2 separate regions of the Homo sapiens genome follow, and region 2 is linked to region 1. Evidence: promoter capture Hi-C in 16 types of primary human blood cells and fetal thymus (Javierre and others, 2016). All regions are on one chromosome and are shown on one strand. The core of a region is centred on a gene start or on the middle of the fragment in contact, and the rest is flanking DNA. Distances in the headings are between cores, read along the strand shown. Region 1 holds the start of KLHL32 (kelch like family member 32). Region 2 overlaps ZBTB2 (zinc finger and BTB domain containing 2).

Region 1 (3,149 bases), core at 180-2,679:
TGTCAATATTTTTGGTTCAAAGACGCTTTCATATTCGATTTTCTGATAGAAGACAACGCAATGAAAACTATCAAGTTGCTTATGAAAAATTCTTAGGATGACACTGCACCTAATGTTTGTAGTCAGTTGTTTGTCATTCTTTCCCTTGTCCTATGCTGTGTCCAGGACTGCTAGATAAGTAGGTACCCAGCATCCTAGCGTCCAGATATCAAAACCATGAAAATGAAGCACTACAAGCCAGACAGATAACCTCCAGAGGGAGCAAACGAATAAACCCCCAAATCCTGTGGATCTAGAAGTAGAAAATAATCGCTGAACCACTGATTTGAGACCAATGAGAACATTAAGGACACCTCAAAATAGATCAGGGCACTGTTCCTAGCCCAACTCTGTGGCAGAACATAAACCTGCAAGAAATAGGATTAACATACTATCTTTGCAGTAAGTTAAATCCTGAACTTCTACAAAATACAGTTTACTCCAATTTAGTTACACTCTTCCTGCTTCTGGTGTCTTACCTCCACGTTGGACTAAGGTTTTCAATTCGGTGGTGGAATACTTACCTATTAAAATTACCCACTTTGCTTTAGTGTGAGTTTCTCAGCATGTTTTACACAGGAGTGACCTGAATGACTCGGAAGTGGCACTTGAGTGTGCCAGGCCCTGGAATTTAATGGTATGGTTCTGTGGTTGTTGTCTGTTTGCGGTTTTATTGCTGAATTAGTAGTAACCACAGTAATCACACCCTTTCTCATTTCTCAGGCTTGGGGATTTCGTCCACCTCTGGCGGGTTGGTTCCCCTGACGTTTCTTAAAGTTACTGTGAATTTGTTCTGGTCAGTACCATAGAGTGTATTATCCTAAGGAGGGCCACTGTAGGGCCGCTAGGACTAGAGGCAACTTGAACTTCACAAGTTAGCAGAGCAAGGACTCCCTGGAACACCGAGTTAGGGCCACGGGGTCTGTTTGCTCAGATTGCCCGCCAGCCCTGGGAAAGGAGTCTGGGGGCGAGCAGGCTGGGTTCCCGGGTCTCAGTCGCCGCAGTGGTGGCTACAGACTGCGCATGTGACCCAGGGGCCGGCGACGCAGGTGCCGGAGAGCGAGGAGGAGGGCGGCGTGGAGGAGGGTACTTCCGGGACCGGCGGGCGCGCGCTGGCAGCTCGCCGACGGCGGGGGCGGGGGCGGGGGGCGGCAGGGGAGCGAGCGCGCTGGCGGCGGGCGGTGGCGTTGCGCGCGGGGTGGCGAAAGGATGTGCGCGGGATCGCGGGGGAGGGGGAGGGAGCGCGCGGGCTAGCTGGAGGCGGGAGGGGGCGGAGCCCTGTGGCGTCTGAACCCGCCCCGGGGGTGCCAAGGTGCGTCTCCAGTCTGACGCGACCGCCTGGGGCGGAGTCAGCGGGACGTGCCACCTGCAGTGCTGGCTAGGGCTTTTTATTTACTAGGGAGCAGTTTCCCCGCGCGACAGTTCGGGAGCGCGCAGGCAGTCGCGCGCACACACGCACGCAGGCACACACACACACACACACACACACACACACACACTTTCGCACACACAAACACGCTAGGACGCTCGTCTTCGCTACTGCATCCCCGAACCAGCAGAGCGAAGCTACTGCGGGTTCTGTTAACCTCAGCATCGTGGGGCGAAGCAGAGCCATTGTGCATCAAGGAGAGGCCGGTGCCTGCGCTGCCGTCTCTGGCACCTAACCCAGCAGACCGCTCACCCCATCGGGTAAGCCAGTCTCTCTCCTTGTAACCTGTTCTGCAGACCTGAGGAAGAGGGTGGGAGGCTGCTGGTGCGCCAAGTGGGGGCAGACCCGGAGTTGACATTTCAGGGGCTTGCAGCCCATGCAGCCTCTGCCCGTGTCGTCTAACGGGAGCAGCCACTACTCAGGTTACTTATGCTGCCAGCCCTGGAGTCGCTCCCCCTTTCTTCCCTCCCCCTGAGCCCAATATGTACTGTGCTCCTTGGTTGCCAAGGAGACTTGCTTAAACATCAGCCGTGGGACATCTATTGAAAGAACTGGTTTCTTAAATGATGCCGTTATTTATTTTGATATTTAAAATAAAATATACACTGAGGACCTTTCGTAATTTGGCATTTGTTAATCTGTATTCAGGTGGCGGTTTCATTCAACTTCAAGAAAAGCCGTAATTGCACTATATGGTATGCTTTAAAAAGGATTCGTCAGATGAATTTTTCAACGGATTGTGTCTTGAATCATAATTTACTCCCATTTTGGTGATCTTATAAAGAAAGATGACTGCAGTTTAGATCCCTTCTTCCCCTCTATTTCCAGTTTTATTTTGCAGTTCACTTAGTCGTGATTATTTTAAATTAAAAGCAGATGATTTAATTGTGTTTCCCCACACAAGAATGAGCTTCTATTGTAAATTGACCAGAACAGGAATACGTTTGTGAATTCGTAACGTAAGAAGGTAGCATTCATGACATACATCTTTGCTAGCATTTTTATATCCCCTGCATCAGTATTGAAGCGCAGTTTTTTGCACCTCTGCTCATTTCTGAGAAGATTCTGTTTTTTAAAAAATCTCTTATTGATTATTTTTAGATCTATCTCTATACACAGATAGAGATAGATATAAAATGTGTGCCATGGCTTACTAGAGCTTATATGAAAGTGCAGTGGTTTTTGCTTTTTGTTTTTTTTCTGATGGGACTGGGTCCTCTACTGGAACACTGATAGGCCAATGGAACAGGTCAGCCTAATACCTGGGCTGTCAGTTTTGTTTTATTTTGAGGTCTCGGGTGTCTATTGGGTGAACTTGTAACACAGTACTTGAAGGCATCAGCAATCCAGTAATTACACTTTGCACGAATTTCATGCCTCCATCACAAACAAATGGCCCAGTAAAGATCCACTGGCATTCAAGAATTAATTTTGTTTTCCTTGGATATTTGTTCATCTTTTCTACTTCTTGTTAAATGACCCAAGGAAATAAGTCAAATTCTTCTAATTTAGATTTTAAACTCTGTCATAGAGAGTGTAATAAATAATGTGAGGAGCAAGTAAGCCAAATAATGACAGAGGTAGATAGAGGGGATTTATGCAATTCACAGAGCTTTGGGAGATGAATGATGACAAACATTTTACATTACAGTGTAGAAAGCACTTTTCATATACTTCTTTT
Region 2 (3,149 bases), core at 414-2,913, about 54 Mb after region 1:
TTTCAGTTTTCATCACAGAGCACATGTGGGCTGATCCGTAAGCAACTCACTCATCCTTTTAGAAGTGCAGAAGAATGGGGCACATACAATTATGTTGTATTTTGACAACCTAAGTTCCTCCTTCATTTTCAGTGTAAGAATAGGAGATCAAAACAGCTTGTGGAAATTGTTGATTCAGTTTTTAAAGATAATAGCTGTTCTAAGACACTAAACACCACTTACACTACCCATTTCAAGGGCACTAAAAGGGTCCTCTGAAGTCCTTGATTTTATTTAAGTGAAGCATAAATGAATATTGTAATTCAAAGGACAATCAGTAACAGCAGAGGCATTACCCACAAGTAAGATTGATTCTTTCAAGTAGTTTAGACCACTTACTAGGATGAAAAGCTGATTTTTCAATTACTATTATTAATAATTAATATTGGAGGGCCCATGAAGTAAACCTGAAGGCTGGTCATTTGAATTTTAATACATTTTAAAACTGTATTTTGAAGGTAGAAAATGCATCTTATTTAGTTGTGATAATGGAGTGGCATTTTTTTCTTAACATTTCCTTAGTCAACCTTCTTCCATAGTAATTAGAAAAGAGAGAGGCATAAACAGCACTTATTTTCATATTAAAAAGCACTGCATTTGTAAAATACTCCTGTTTTCAATTATATTTTCCCTATGTTTACACTTAAATTAGTTTTTAGTTTCCAAATGTAAGTTGGGGTCATAAGGAGGCAATTCAGGGACATCTTAGGTGTCAAACAGAAGTAGATCAGAGATTTATGGCTAATAACGAGTTCATATTAAAGTAATAATTCTAAAGGCATTATGCTACAATCAACCTGAAGGAAACTTACAGATGATTACACACGGCAAAATTAAAAAATTAATCTGGGCTTGGGACAGTGGCTCACCCCTGTAATCTCAGCACTTTGGGAGGCCAAGGCGGGCAGATCACTTGAGCCCCGGAGACCAGCCTGCGCAACATGACGAGACCCTGTCTCTATAAAAAGAAAATTAGCTGAATGTGGTGGCATGTGCCCATGGTCCCAGCTACCAGAAGGCTGAGGTGGGAGGATTGCTTGAGCCAGGGAGGCTGAGGCTGCTGTGAGCCATGGTCATGCCACTGCACTCTAGCCTGCATGAAAGAGTGAGACCCTGTCTCAAAACAACAACAACAAAAAACTGATCTGCTTCTAATAATCCACCAGAGTGGAGATTGCCTTTGTTTTTTATATACCATAAAATGATTAGTAAAATTAATCTGAAGAAAATATAATCACCTAAATGTGTAGTTCAGGGTATATAACACAGGTGAGTTTCAAATGTGTTTAACTCAAAGTCTTAATAATATGTTTCAATATTTTAGAGCAGAGCTTCTGAAACTTTTTGGTGTTGGGATCCCTTAATGGTCTTAAAAATTATTAAGAACATCAATTATATGTTTATATGGATTTTAACTACTGATAATTACCAAAATGGAGAAATTTTAGAAATATTTAATTCAATTAAAAACAATAAGGCCATTACATGTTAAAGTACAGAACATTTTTATGAAAAAATAATTGTATTTTCTAAAATAACAAAGTGGTGTCTTTTTATATTTTTGCAATTCTCTTTAACAGAAGACAACTGGATTTTGCATTTACTCCTCAATTAACTCTGTTTTGGTTGAGTAGTGAAGAAAATCCAGCCTCACCCACCTATGTAGTTGGAAAAAGGAGATATATTTGAATAGCCTTTTCAGGTAATTGTGGACAGTCCTCTTTTATATTATACCAACACTTGACAAGTCTACTTTCTTAAAAGTTGGTTGTGTAATATAAAACTACATAACTGAATTAACTTTTCCTACTCTATTATAGTAATATTCATTGGTCTATCCACTTTCAACGGATCATTTACCCACTCATGATTTTTAACATCATCTGTTGGTCATTTGGAAAATATCGGCTCACTGAATTAAGCAGATCTTCTCAGTGTCAACACTGAGAAGACATTTTGTCAACACAGCGGAAAAGGCCATAACAACTTAGTATTACTGTGACAACAGTTTTGACTTCATTGAATCCTGAAAGGATCCTGGGGCTTCAAAAGGATCTGCAGACCACACTTAGACAAGCGCCGTTCAGAATCACTTTGGGGACTCAGAGAACCTAAATGACTCTCCCGGTGCAGGAGAACATGCGCACTTCATTCCAGAGGATTCTGACGCTTACCCTGCTTGGTGCAGAACTTAGCGAGTGCCCCCTGTTTAAGAGAACAGTACACTAAAATCTCTAACAAAAGTAAAAAAGTAGTTTCCCTAAGTACTTAGCCAGATACATAAAAGTATTTTTCAAATTCCTATCTTTGAATACTGAACTTTCTTAAAGTGACACTCAAAGGCATGTGATGCATACCTCAAGCATGTGAACTGGGGGTTATGAGTTTGAGCATAAATATGAGCCTCCAAGTTGGCTTCTAAAATGGATCTACATATGTTGGGCTGCCAACTCCTTGTAAGGGTTCTGTGGCTACTGATTCCATATCTTAATGGCTCTATCGGCATTGTAAAAATACTGAATCTTATTTACTATCAATTCGAAGTAATATTTTAATTATTTAATAGTTTAATTTGCTAGCACAAATTATAACCTACTTGAGCATAAAGAACGTTTTAGAAATATTCTTAGTCTAATGCTTAGAATGTTTACATTTTTTTTTTTTCTTCAGGGAAATAAAAATGTTCAGTTCCCTTTTAGGTTTTCAGTCATGTTTGGAGAGCCAAAGAGCATAAGAAAATAGGAAAAGTGATGATAAATGACCTTTCCCAGGTGCATTTGGTATTTTATGGTAAAAAAATTACCAGCAAACCAGTTCTTTCAATCTTCCTCTCCTGTGCAGGCTGGTGCCACGGGACTTGCCCAGCTTTTCCAAGTTCCTACAGGGAAAGGTGAGTGGGGCTAGGAATGAAGCACCAAGAAACAGTAAGAGCTGGAAGGGCAGTTCCCACCTCTAAAGCTGCTGATCCCAGGCCGATGCTACAGATGAGCTTTAGATATTTCCTTCTCTATTTTGTAAGTCTCAAATTGGGGAAAGCACATCCACTTACTCATGGGCATGCTGTGGGTACTTGAAATCACAGGATTGCAAAGTATATCTATGGGGTTGGG

What was found. The method cuts DNA at HindIII sites, captures the fragments that hold promoters and counts their contacts. A CHiCAGO score of 5 or more calls a contact.
Region 2: a fragment that was not itself captured here is called in contact with the fragment with the promoter of KLHL32 in region 1 in 1 of 17 cell types (total B cells); the score reaches 5.2 in total B cells.

What each region holds. Positions count from the first base shown.
Region 1 is chr6:96,923,299-96,926,447 of GRCh38, forward strand. KLHL32 (kelch like family member 32) reads left to right here and starts at 1,430. Exons shown (of 11, transcript NM_052904.4): 1 at 1,430-1,728. RefSeq lists a silencer at 1,157-1,466. The HindIII fragment of the contact is 7,655 bases long and covers 1-3,149 here.
Region 2 is chr6:151,385,375-151,388,523 of GRCh38, forward strand. All of the region lies in intron 1 of ZBTB2 (zinc finger and BTB domain containing 2), which reads right to left. It overlaps LOC124901232 (translation initiation factor IF-2-like), which reads left to right and starts at 2,946. Exons shown (of 3, transcript XM_047419613.1): 1 at 2,946-2,963. The coding sequence starts at 2,946. RefSeq lists an enhancer at 88-247. The HindIII fragment of the contact is 3,678 bases long and covers 1-3,149 here.